2 separate regions of the Homo sapiens genome follow, and region 1 is linked to region 2. Evidence: promoter capture Hi-C in human tissues and cell types (Jung and others, 2019). All regions are on one chromosome and are shown on one strand. Each heading gives the region's core, a stretch centred on a gene start or on the middle of the fragment in contact. The rest is flanking DNA. Distances are from core to core; before and after follow the strand shown. Region 1 has its middle 17 kb from the start of STRBP. Region 2 holds the start of CRB2 (crumbs cell polarity complex component 2).

The links. Contacts are between HindIII fragments. The study calls those that stand out against the background at their distance.
Region 1: a contact is called between a fragment that was not itself captured here and the fragment with the promoter of CRB2 in region 2, in 3 of the 25 tissues and cell types used here (bladder, liver and mesendoderm cells).

The regions. Positions count from the first base shown.
Region 1 is chr9:123,283,474-123,288,275 of GRCh38, reverse strand. No RefSeq gene overlaps it. Among named protein-coding and RNA genes, the nearest start is that of STRBP, 17 kb to the right of the region's middle. The HindIII fragment of the contact is 4,577 bases long and covers 1-3,887 here.
Region 2 is chr9:123,354,520-123,359,815 of GRCh38, reverse strand. CRB2 (crumbs cell polarity complex component 2) reads right to left here and starts at 3,619. Exons shown (of 13, transcript NM_173689.7): 1 at 3,462-3,619. The coding sequence starts at 3,555. RefSeq lists enhancers at 1,271-1,938, 5,157-5,296. The HindIII fragment of the contact is 16,000 bases long and covers 1,384-5,296 here.

The sequences.
Region 1 (4,802 bases), core at 350-2,849, 70 kb after region 2:
GGGTGATGAAAATATTCTGGAATTAAATAGTGGTGATAGTTGCTCAATCCTGTGAATACTCTAAAATCCACTGAAGTGTACACTTTCACGGAGTGAATTTTGTGGTAAGTGAATTATATCTCAATTTAAAAAGTTTTACCTTTTAGGGTTATTGGGAAGTTTAAGTGAGATAATTTATATAAATTCCCTAGCACAGAGACTGCCTTGTAGTAAGAACTCATTAAATGCTAAGTAACTCAAATAAATGTTATCTGTTACTATCATTATTACCGTTGCTATTATTATTATTACTATTAGTAGCTAGTGATTTTCATCTGTTCACCTCTCCAGAGCATCAGACCTCTCACCTGCAAGCAGGCATAACAAGACTTTAATTATTTAGGGTTTTGTAGTCACCAGCAACAGAAACCTACTCAGCCTCATGAGTCAAAAAGGGGATTAATAGCAAGCCTGTGGTGTAGATGACTGAATTAAAGGGACAGACTAAGAACTAGACTCAGAAAGAAAAGGCCCAAGGGACAGAATCTACAGAAAAGACCAGCTGAGAAGCCATGGAGTGACTGCAGAAGCAAGAGGTTCTGCATCGGGCTGTCTATGTTCAAATCTAGCTCTACCCATAAACCTGCACGACCTTGTTTTGTTGCCTTGGTTTGTCCATCTGTTAGGGAAGACAGGGAGTATATCAGGGACTCCTTGAAAGAACTGTTTGCAGGATGAAATGAATTAATATATGTACAACTCTTATTGTGCTCACACTTGTAAATTCCCAATAAATACTATTATTACCATCAACAGGACTTTGTCCCTGGGATAATTCAACTCTGCCCATTTTTTTTTCTGATGATGTATAGCTGTGTTCAAGGTTCAAATTCCTAAAGAGTGTGATGAACACCTCTTGCCCAGAGAAGGGTGAAGCATCCTGATTGACAGCCCTGACAAGACCGAAAATACAGGGGCCTGTAGGATGATACCCAGAAGACAATCCAGAAGAAAGGGGAGGGGTGCCTAACAGCAAAACCGACCCAGGCCCCTGCAAATCCCCTCACACAATGTTGTTAGGAGGATTAGAGATAATATGTGCAAAGTGCCTGGCATTCAGTCGCCCTTAATTACTGGGATCCTTATTCTCAGCTTTCTTTATTAGGGGGTTGTGGATTTTCTTTTTTTTTTTTTTTTGAGATGGAGTCTCACTCTGTCACCCAGGCTGGAGTTTAGTGATGCGATCTCGGCTCACTGCAACCTCTGCCTCCCGGGTTCAAGCGATTCTCATGCCTCAGCCTCCCTAGTAGCTGGGACTACAGGCACGTGCCATCACGCCTAGCTAATTTTTTGTATTTTTAGCAGAGACAAGGTTTCACCATGTTAACCAGGATGGTCTCAATCTCCTGACCTCATGATCTGACTGCCTTGGCCTCTCAAAGTGCTGGGATTCAGGTATGAGCCACTGTGCCCGGCTGGATTTTTTATTACCATTGCAATAAACATTTGGGAAGAATTGCAAAAGGCTTCAAATGCCATATTAAGACATCTGCACTTTATTCTGAGAAACAAGCAGAAGGACCATCTCCTGAAAACCGCATGGCATGCTCAGAGTCCCTGAGGACTGTAGTATCCTTTCCTCATGGTCACACAGCCCTGTCCTCTCTCAGCTGTGTGATCATGACCCTAGGCAACTGACCTAACATCTCTGCCTCAGCTTCCCAGTGCATAAAATATGGTCACATTACTGGTTGCTGTAGGGCTTAAATGAGATAGTATTTGCAAAGTACTTAGAACAGTGGTAAGTGCTCAATAAGTTGTAGCAGTTATGGCACATAAAATGAAGTTAAAAATCTCCACCTCACCAGGTTGATGGAAAGATCAATTGGGATCAAAGAAGTTACAGCACTTTGCACATGGAAAAATGCCATGTCCCAGAAAGATGTTTCTTTGATTGTGATCACTGCTGGCAATAAGAAACACCTTTAGTGAAATTACTAGTTTTCCGTAAAATAAAGAAGCATTAAATGCATACATTCAATAATAAGGTGGAATTTGATCAGAAACATTAGACTATGAAAAGGGTGAGTCTAACACTGAGGAAATAAAATATTGATAAATTGATGTTTCAAATAATTAAAGAATGTTCTCATAGCGTCTATTACCAATTTCCCAAAACTTAAAACACAATATCGCTTACTTAATGCTAAAAGGGCACACAGCATAGTTTAGTCTTTCCTTGAAGCTTTTGAATTTCCTTGAAGGCAAGATCAGCAATTTTAAAATACACTTTTGGATCCTCTAGCTGAATGGTTCTCAACCCTGGGTATATATTAGCATCCACTGGGGAGCTTTTAAAAAATACTGTTGCCCGGGTCCCATTTCAGACCAATTAAATCTGAGTGTCTGGTGCTGGAGCCCGAGCACTGGAATTTTTCGAAGCTCCACAGGTAAACTGTTCCTCCTAGCAGTGGCCTAACTCACAGAGGGTGCCATGGTACTTGGAGATGAGACCAAAGAGGTCTGCAGAGGCTGGGCCACAGAAGGTTTCATACACTACAATTCGGAGGCTCAGTGTTATCTCATAAAATGTGGAGCCACTTCCTGTAATCCCAGTGACTCAGGAGGCTGAGGTGGGAGAATCACTTGAGGCCAGGAGTTCGAGATCAGCTTGGGCAACATAGTGAGACATCCATTTCAACAAAAAAGATTTCTTGAGTCCAGTTGATCCAGCCACTGCACTCTAGCCTGGGGGACAGAGTGAAACCCTGTCTCTAAACAAAAGGAAAAAAAGAAGGAGAGCCACTGAAGACTTCTTTTTCTTTTCTTTTTTCTTTTTTTTTTTTTTTTTTTTTTGAGATGGAGCCTCGCTCTGTCACCCAGGCTTGAGTGCAGTGGCACGATCTTGGCTCACTGCAAGCTCCGCCTCCCAGGTTCATGCCATTCTCCTGCCTCAGCCTCCCGAGTAGCTGGGACTACAGGCGCCCGCTGCCACGTCCGGCTACTTTTTTGTATTTTTAGTAGAGACGGGGTTTCACGGTGTTAGCCAGGATGGTCTCCATCTCCTGACCTCGTGATCCGCCCGCCTCGGCCTCCCAGAGTGCTGGGATTACAGGCGTGAGCCACCGCGCCAGGCTGAGCCACTAAAGACTTTTAACAAAATTTTTAATCCAGTGAGAGTTCAAGTTAGAATGACCATTCTGGTGACACGTGGTGGTGCACTGGAGTTGCAAGACTGGAGAAAAAAAAACCTAGAATGGAGGCCACTGGAACTATCTAGATTGTATCAGTTATTTTTACGGTGAAACAAAAGAGCCCCAAAGCTTAATTGCTTTAAAAAACGATTCATCATTTCTCATGATTCTGTGGAATGCCTGGGCAGCTCTTCTGCAGGTCTCTCCTGTGCACCTCATACAGCTGCTTTCAGCTGGCGGGGTGGCTGGGGGCTGGGCTCACCGGCAACAGCTGTGTCTCTCTCTCCAGCGCAGTCTTTCATCTTTGACTTCTCAGCGTGGAGGACTCAGAGCAGTGTTCTAAGAGAGAGGAGGTAGAAATTGCAAGGATTCTTATTTATTTATTTATTTATTTGTTATTTTTATTTTATTTATTTATATTTTTTTGAGATGGAGTCTCGCTCTGTCATCCGGGCTGGAGTGCAGTGGCACGATCTCAGTTCACTGCAACCTCTGTCTCCTGAGTTCAAGCGATTCTCCTGCCTCAGCCTCCTGAGTAGCTGGGATTACAGGTGCACACCACCACGCCTAGCTATTTTTTGTATTTTTAGTAGAGATGGAGTTTCACCATGTTGGTCAGGCTGGTCTCGAACTCCTGACCTCGTGATCCGCCTGCCTCGGCCTCTCAAAGTGCTGGGATTACAGGCGTGAGCCACTGACCGCCCCTGGCCCTATTTTTTATTTTTTTAATTGAGATAGAGTCTCACTCTGTTGCTCAAGCTGGAGTGCAGTGGCACGATCTCCACTTACTGCAACCTCCCAGGTTCAAGCCTCCTGGGTTCAAGTGATTCTCATGCCCCAGCCTCCCCCCAGTAGCTGGGATTACAGGCATGAGCCACCATGCCCAGCTAATTTTTGTATTTTTAGTGGAGACAGGGTTTTACCATGTTGGCCAGGCTGGTCTCAAACTCCTGACCTCAAGTGATGCACCCGCCTCGGCCTCCCAAAGTGCTGGGATTACAGGCATGAGCCACCGTACCCGGCCTCTTACTTATTTTTGAGACAGGGTCTTGCTCTGTTGCCCAGGCTGCAGTGCAGTGGTGTGATCACGGCTCACTGCAGCCTTGAACTCCTGGGCTCAAGCAGTCTCAAGTACCTGGGACCACAGATGCATGACGTGGCACCTGGCTAATTTTTAAATATTTTTTGTAGGGTTGAGGTCTCCCTATGTTGCCCAGGCTGGGCACTCCAGCCTGGGCGACGGAGTGAGACTCTATTTCAAAAAAAAAAAAAAAAAAAGATTAAAGAGAATTTCAAAGCTTTTGGCATGAGCAACTGGGTGAACTGTGGTGACCTTTATGGAGATATTGGGGACCCTGGTGAAGAAGTAGTGAATCACAAGTTTGGTTTTGAGTATGTTAAGTTTGAGATGCCTTTTAGATCTCCAAGTCCAGATGCTGAGTAGGCACTTAGCCACTGAGCCTGGAGTTCAGAGTGGGGCAGCAGATAGAAATTTGAGTATTGTCGATCGTTCTATCAAATCATGAGACTGGATGGATCACAGAGAGTTTGATAGTGGGGCTGTCGGGAGACTGAGCCTTGGGGTACTCCAACATTAGAGGAAGGGATGACAGGAAGGATCATCCAACT
Region 2 (5,296 bases), core at 2,370-4,869:
ACTTTTCATGCACTTAGAATGGGCCTGTTTATAACAGCCAACAACTGATGAGAAGTGTTTTACTGAAGCCAGGTGCAGTGGCTCACACCTGTAATCCCAGCACTTTGGGAAGCTGAGGTGGGAGGATCACTTCAGGCCAGGAGCTCAAGACCAGCCTGTGCAAACATAGTGAGACGCTGGCTCTATGAAAACAAAACGAAATAAGCCAAGCATGGGGTGGGTCCCTGTAGTCCCAGCTGCTTGGGAGGCTGAGGTGGGAGGATGGCTTGAGCCCAGGGTGTCGAGGCTACAGTGGGCTATGATTTTGCCACTGCACTGCAGCCAGGGCAACAGGGTGAGACCCTTTCTTAAAAAAAAAAAAAAAAAAAAAAAAACAAAACAAAAACGAAAAACCACAAACAAAAAAAGAAGCATTTACTGGGGAAGCTTCCTGTCCCAACAAATCAAGAGACAGAATATTTCTAAGAAGCGACCTAAGATCTCATAAGGTGTGGGAACTTCTAGCATAGGGGAAGAAATTGTTCATCTAATATCCCTGGGCCCCAAGGCTCTACCCTACAAGGGTAGGGCTGAATAACCATGGAGGCTTGCAGACACTCACTCAGTCATCAGGAAAGGGTGAAATTCTCTTTTGGGCAGAATAATTTGGCATACTCTTTTTCAAAAATGTTTACCTTCTGAGGTTAAAAGACATAATTTTGATAACAGTAATTGCAACAATAGCTGTCAGGGACGGAGCACCTACCCTGTGCCTGGCACTGACCAACCCTTGAGAGTTTGGGCTCAGAGCACAGTTCCAGGGAGTTACCTCCTGAAGTGAGGGGGAGACAGAGCAGGTGGGGTTCCCCACCTGCCACCCAAACAGGCCACTTTTAACAATTTTACTATTAACTATTCATGGGCTTCCATCTAAAATTTCCCTTGAAATTGGGGGTTCCATGCCAAAACCTGGGGTGGGGAACCGCTCACTGCATTCTCTTCCAATCCTTATACCAGCGCTCGGAGTAAGCCAGTCTGTCCTCGTTTTGTAGAGACAGAGAAGAGACGTGACTTTGCCTAGGCAAGTAGCACAGTGTACTGTGAAATCCCAGCACTGGCTCTGGGGCTTCCTGGCTCTGGGACTGGCCATCTCTGGGCCTCGTTTACCTCCTCTGTAAACTAGGGGTATCAGAGCTGACTTCATAGGCTGTTGGGAGAATTAAATTAGACCTCGTTAATAATAGCACAGTGCCTGCCATGGAGTGGCTGATCTTACTCATTAACAATTCTTTACTTGAGGCAGACACCCACTGTCCAAAGGATCCTGACATTGGGTTGAATGTGTGTGGCTTTCTGCTCCATCTCTGCTTCTGTCCTGCAGGCCCCCACCCCCTTCTGGCTGGAGGAGGGGCCGGACTTGGGGCCTGGACTCACTGCCCCTTTGTCTGCTGGGCTCCCTGGGTGTTTGGGGAAGGGAGGGTGGATATGAGAGCCCAACGTGCCCCATTGTACTCCAAGATGCTTGGTCCTCTCCATGGCAACCAGCCGGGCCTTTGTGGCAAATTGGGCCCAGGATGGAGAGGCCCAGCTCAGGGCCTGGCAGGGGTGGGGAGAAAAGCCAGGGGCCCATGGCCTCCAGAAGCCCCCATCCCCTCCAGGATGGAAATTGGTTTTCAAGTGACAAAATCCCCAATCCCTCCCCTCCCGGCAGGCAGTCTAGGGTACCAGCATGCAGAAATGGTCATGCCTGCAGTGTACCCCACCAACTTTTAGGGATCCCCAGGGATGGCGCTCCCAGCACAGAAATGGCAGAGGAAAGGCTGCCCCTGGGCAACCCAGCAGGCCTGATGGGTTGAGTGTACACACCAGTGTCCAGACCCCCCACAGCCTCCATCCACTCTGTGCCTCCAGGTCCCCTGTGAGTGCACACTGAGTGTGAATGCACACATGTCCACATGTGCGTGTTGGGGTGTGCACATTGGTGTGCAGGCACATGCCATGTGTGTAGGTAGGTGCATGTGCTGGTAGATCCACATGTGTCTGTAGCACCTGTCCCTGTGGTGCTGTGTGCCCTTGGGCATGCCACACAGGTGTGCGGAGTGTGGGTGTGTGAGCATCACAGGGCAGGGGACAGAGCACCGATCCACAGACCGGGATCTCACGTGCTTTGTATGCAGAGAACAGAGAGGAGCAGCCACCCCGCCCCCCGCCACCATGCCCCACCCCTCTATGGAGCCCAAGTCGCCTGCCAGCAGAGCCCAGCTCATAAGTCCCCGTCCCTCTCTGAGCCTTGGTTTCCTTCACTGCAAAATGGGGTCCTCATCCTCCCTAGGGCCCCATAGAGAGGATAGGAAATGAAAGCTTTGTGAGTGCGGGAAACATGAGGGTCCCCAGGTGGGACTGGGAGACACTTGGCCCCCACACCCTACAGCCTGTGGAGCTCTGGGGCAGGGAGGGCTCCCCCAGCCTCAGGAGAGCCCAGGCCCTCCTTGGCTCCCTCCCCAGCCTGTGGTGGTGGGGGCAGGGGACTTCCCAGGCCCGGCCCCTGTAACTATAGTAACTAACACCAAGCGTTCCCTTGGACCCCCCAGGAGGAATTCCAGGCTCCGAGAGCTTGGACAAAAGCAAAAAGGGCTTGGCAAATGTGGTCTGGCTTCAGGGAGCCCTTTCAGATTGGCCTTGGAATGCTGGGGAGGGGGCAGCAGGGGACACACACATGTTCCCAAATCCCCAGCCACCCCACAGGGACCCAGAGCATCCCCAGCAGCCCTCAGCACAGGCAGGGCTACCGCACAAATGGAGGGGTGCGGGCAGGCACCCAGCTCCCTGAGTCTCCCTCACGCTTCTCCACTCAGTCCCGAGTTGGGGTCGGCTGTGCACATCCCACACCCCTCATGTTGAGAGCAAAGACCTAGTTCAACCCTGGACAACCTACACCCCACAGCGTGTGCTAGGACACAGCTCACCACACCCAACTCCTCGGACACAACTCACGGCTCACCCCAGACAGCTCATCCACCTCCCAACTCTAACACACCCACAACCTGTGCCCCACAACCCAGCATGCGACACAGAACAAGCTCTGGGGTGAGGCTTATGCCACCTGCAACTCCCCAAACTCAGCCCCTAGAAACCCAGAAGTCCCCCAGCCCTTTACAGGATGCAACACAGCACCTCCCAAAACACGCACCCCATCCCTCACCCGCATCAGCTCCCCCAAATCATGCCCAGCCCCCGATCCCCCAACCCCGAAACTTACAACCCCCCTCAACATGAAACAGCCCCGAGCCTCAGAACACACTCACCTCCGTGGAGCCCCACAGAGTCTGGGGGCCACAGCCGCGCACTCCTGTGCACCCCACAGCTCAGGCCTGCACCCACGCGGACCAGCCCACCCACCACCCCAGCAGCCAAGGCTTGGGGTATCTGTCTTGGGGGACAGACCCTCTCCCAGGCCCCTCCAGACATGGGCCCCAACTCACCAGCCAGGAGGGAAAGGGCAGGGGCCCAGAGCAGCAGTAGCAGGACAGAGGCCAGGGCCTGGGGGTCCGGGGTCCCAGGCCTGGCCAGCGCCATGGCAGCCCGCTCTGCGCTCTGCTCGGCTGCTGTGAGAACGGGAGGGCGGCCTGGCTGGCTCCGCACCCCCCTCGTCCCTCCAACCAGCACTAATGCTGTGGACAGAGGCCCAGCCCCTCCCTCCCCTCCCCGCCACCGCCTCCTCCTCCCACCCAGGCCTCCTGGGCTGCTCCACCTCGTGGACGTCCCTAGACATCAGCCCCAAGTCCTCAAGCCCCCTAGCCTGTGGGGCTGACCTGGTCTTGGCACCCACTGGTTTCTCCCTCCTGACCCTCTGCCCCACTCTCCTCCCACCTCTCAGGTCAGCCTCCTTGGAGAAATTTCTGTCCTTGGAGAGGGGGCTGTTCAGGACTCTCGTCTCACCAGGTGATGCCAGCTACTCCCAAGTCCTTAGTTATCCCCTCTCCTGGATCCCCCTCCCCACCTCTCCAGCCCGGGCCTCTCTCCCAAGCCCAGGCCTTCGAGTCCAGTCGCCTCCCAGACCCTGTCTCTGCTGGGAAGCTGCAGCCCCTCCCACCCAGCTCGTCCCCCCACCTGCTGCTCCCCAGTGCTCCCATCGGAGCCAAGGCACCTCCCATCGGGCAGCCCAACGCCCCCTCCCCACTCCCCCCTCCCCACACTCGGTCAGCCCCTAGCTCCTGGCCATGCCACCTTCTCAGTGTCTCCTGCTGTCCCCACCCCGTCCCACCCGACCACACACAGCTCCTCCCACCATCGGCCTCAGGATCAGCTCCCTGCAGGGCACCTCACCCCTGCACCACGGTGGTCCCTGCCTCCCTTTACCCTCTCCACCCTTCACCAGCCAAACTGAACCTTTCCCAGCTTTCTTCCACTTGACCTTGATCTCTGGCTCTGCTGTTTGCAACTCCAGCGACCTCACTGCAATCCAAAGCAGCCCATTCTACTGAAAGGCAGCTCTAACCAAGCAAGCATTGCTCTCCCCTGCCAGGAAGTCCTTCTTGTTGTCTAACCTTATAGTCTCCTGCTGCACTCGATGTTTGCTTGCTCTCCAGCTGGCCTCTTGTTGGGGTGGACAGGAGGAGCTCTTCAGGGGGACCTGGTTCAGGAAGCCAGGTCATCTCAGAGACACTACAACATAGAACAACATTCCTTTCTTCTACCACCCTCAGCCCCAGTGGGGAGAGAATCCTCTTGCTGAAGGGACTTTCCTGAAATGAGCCACCGGCCCCTGCCAATACATGCCTGTTTGTCCCTATTCAGTAACCGTGGATACAGCCCACGCAGGCCCTGGGCTCTGGGATGTGTCCCTGACACGGGAGGACACAGCCTGGAAAGACAGCAGGAGCCATTGAGGGAGGTCCAGATGAGCTAGAGGGATGGGCAAGGGTCCCCTGCAGTGCAGGGGAGGGAGCAGTGGGCACCACACAGGCCCTGGCCGACCCTCTAGCCCGGGGCAAGTGCCACAGCCCTGGGTCCCCAGGGACCAAAGGAGGGAACCCAAAAAGGCCTGGGTAGACTCCTTATCCACTGCCCCTGCCCCATCCCTGCCCTTGAGGCCTGTTCTCTCCAGGGCAGGGATTGCCCCTTGGTTTCTGGGACACTAACCTCTCTCAGTCCATCTTTAATCCCCTGCCTCTCCAATACAACAGGATCCCTCTCCCCAGGTGGGAGAAGCCCCTCTCCATGCCACAGGAAAAGCAGAGGCCTCACAGCGTAAGAGATCTGGGTTCGAGCCCAGCTCAGCCACTGATTAGCCGGTGACCTCAGCACGTGACTTCCT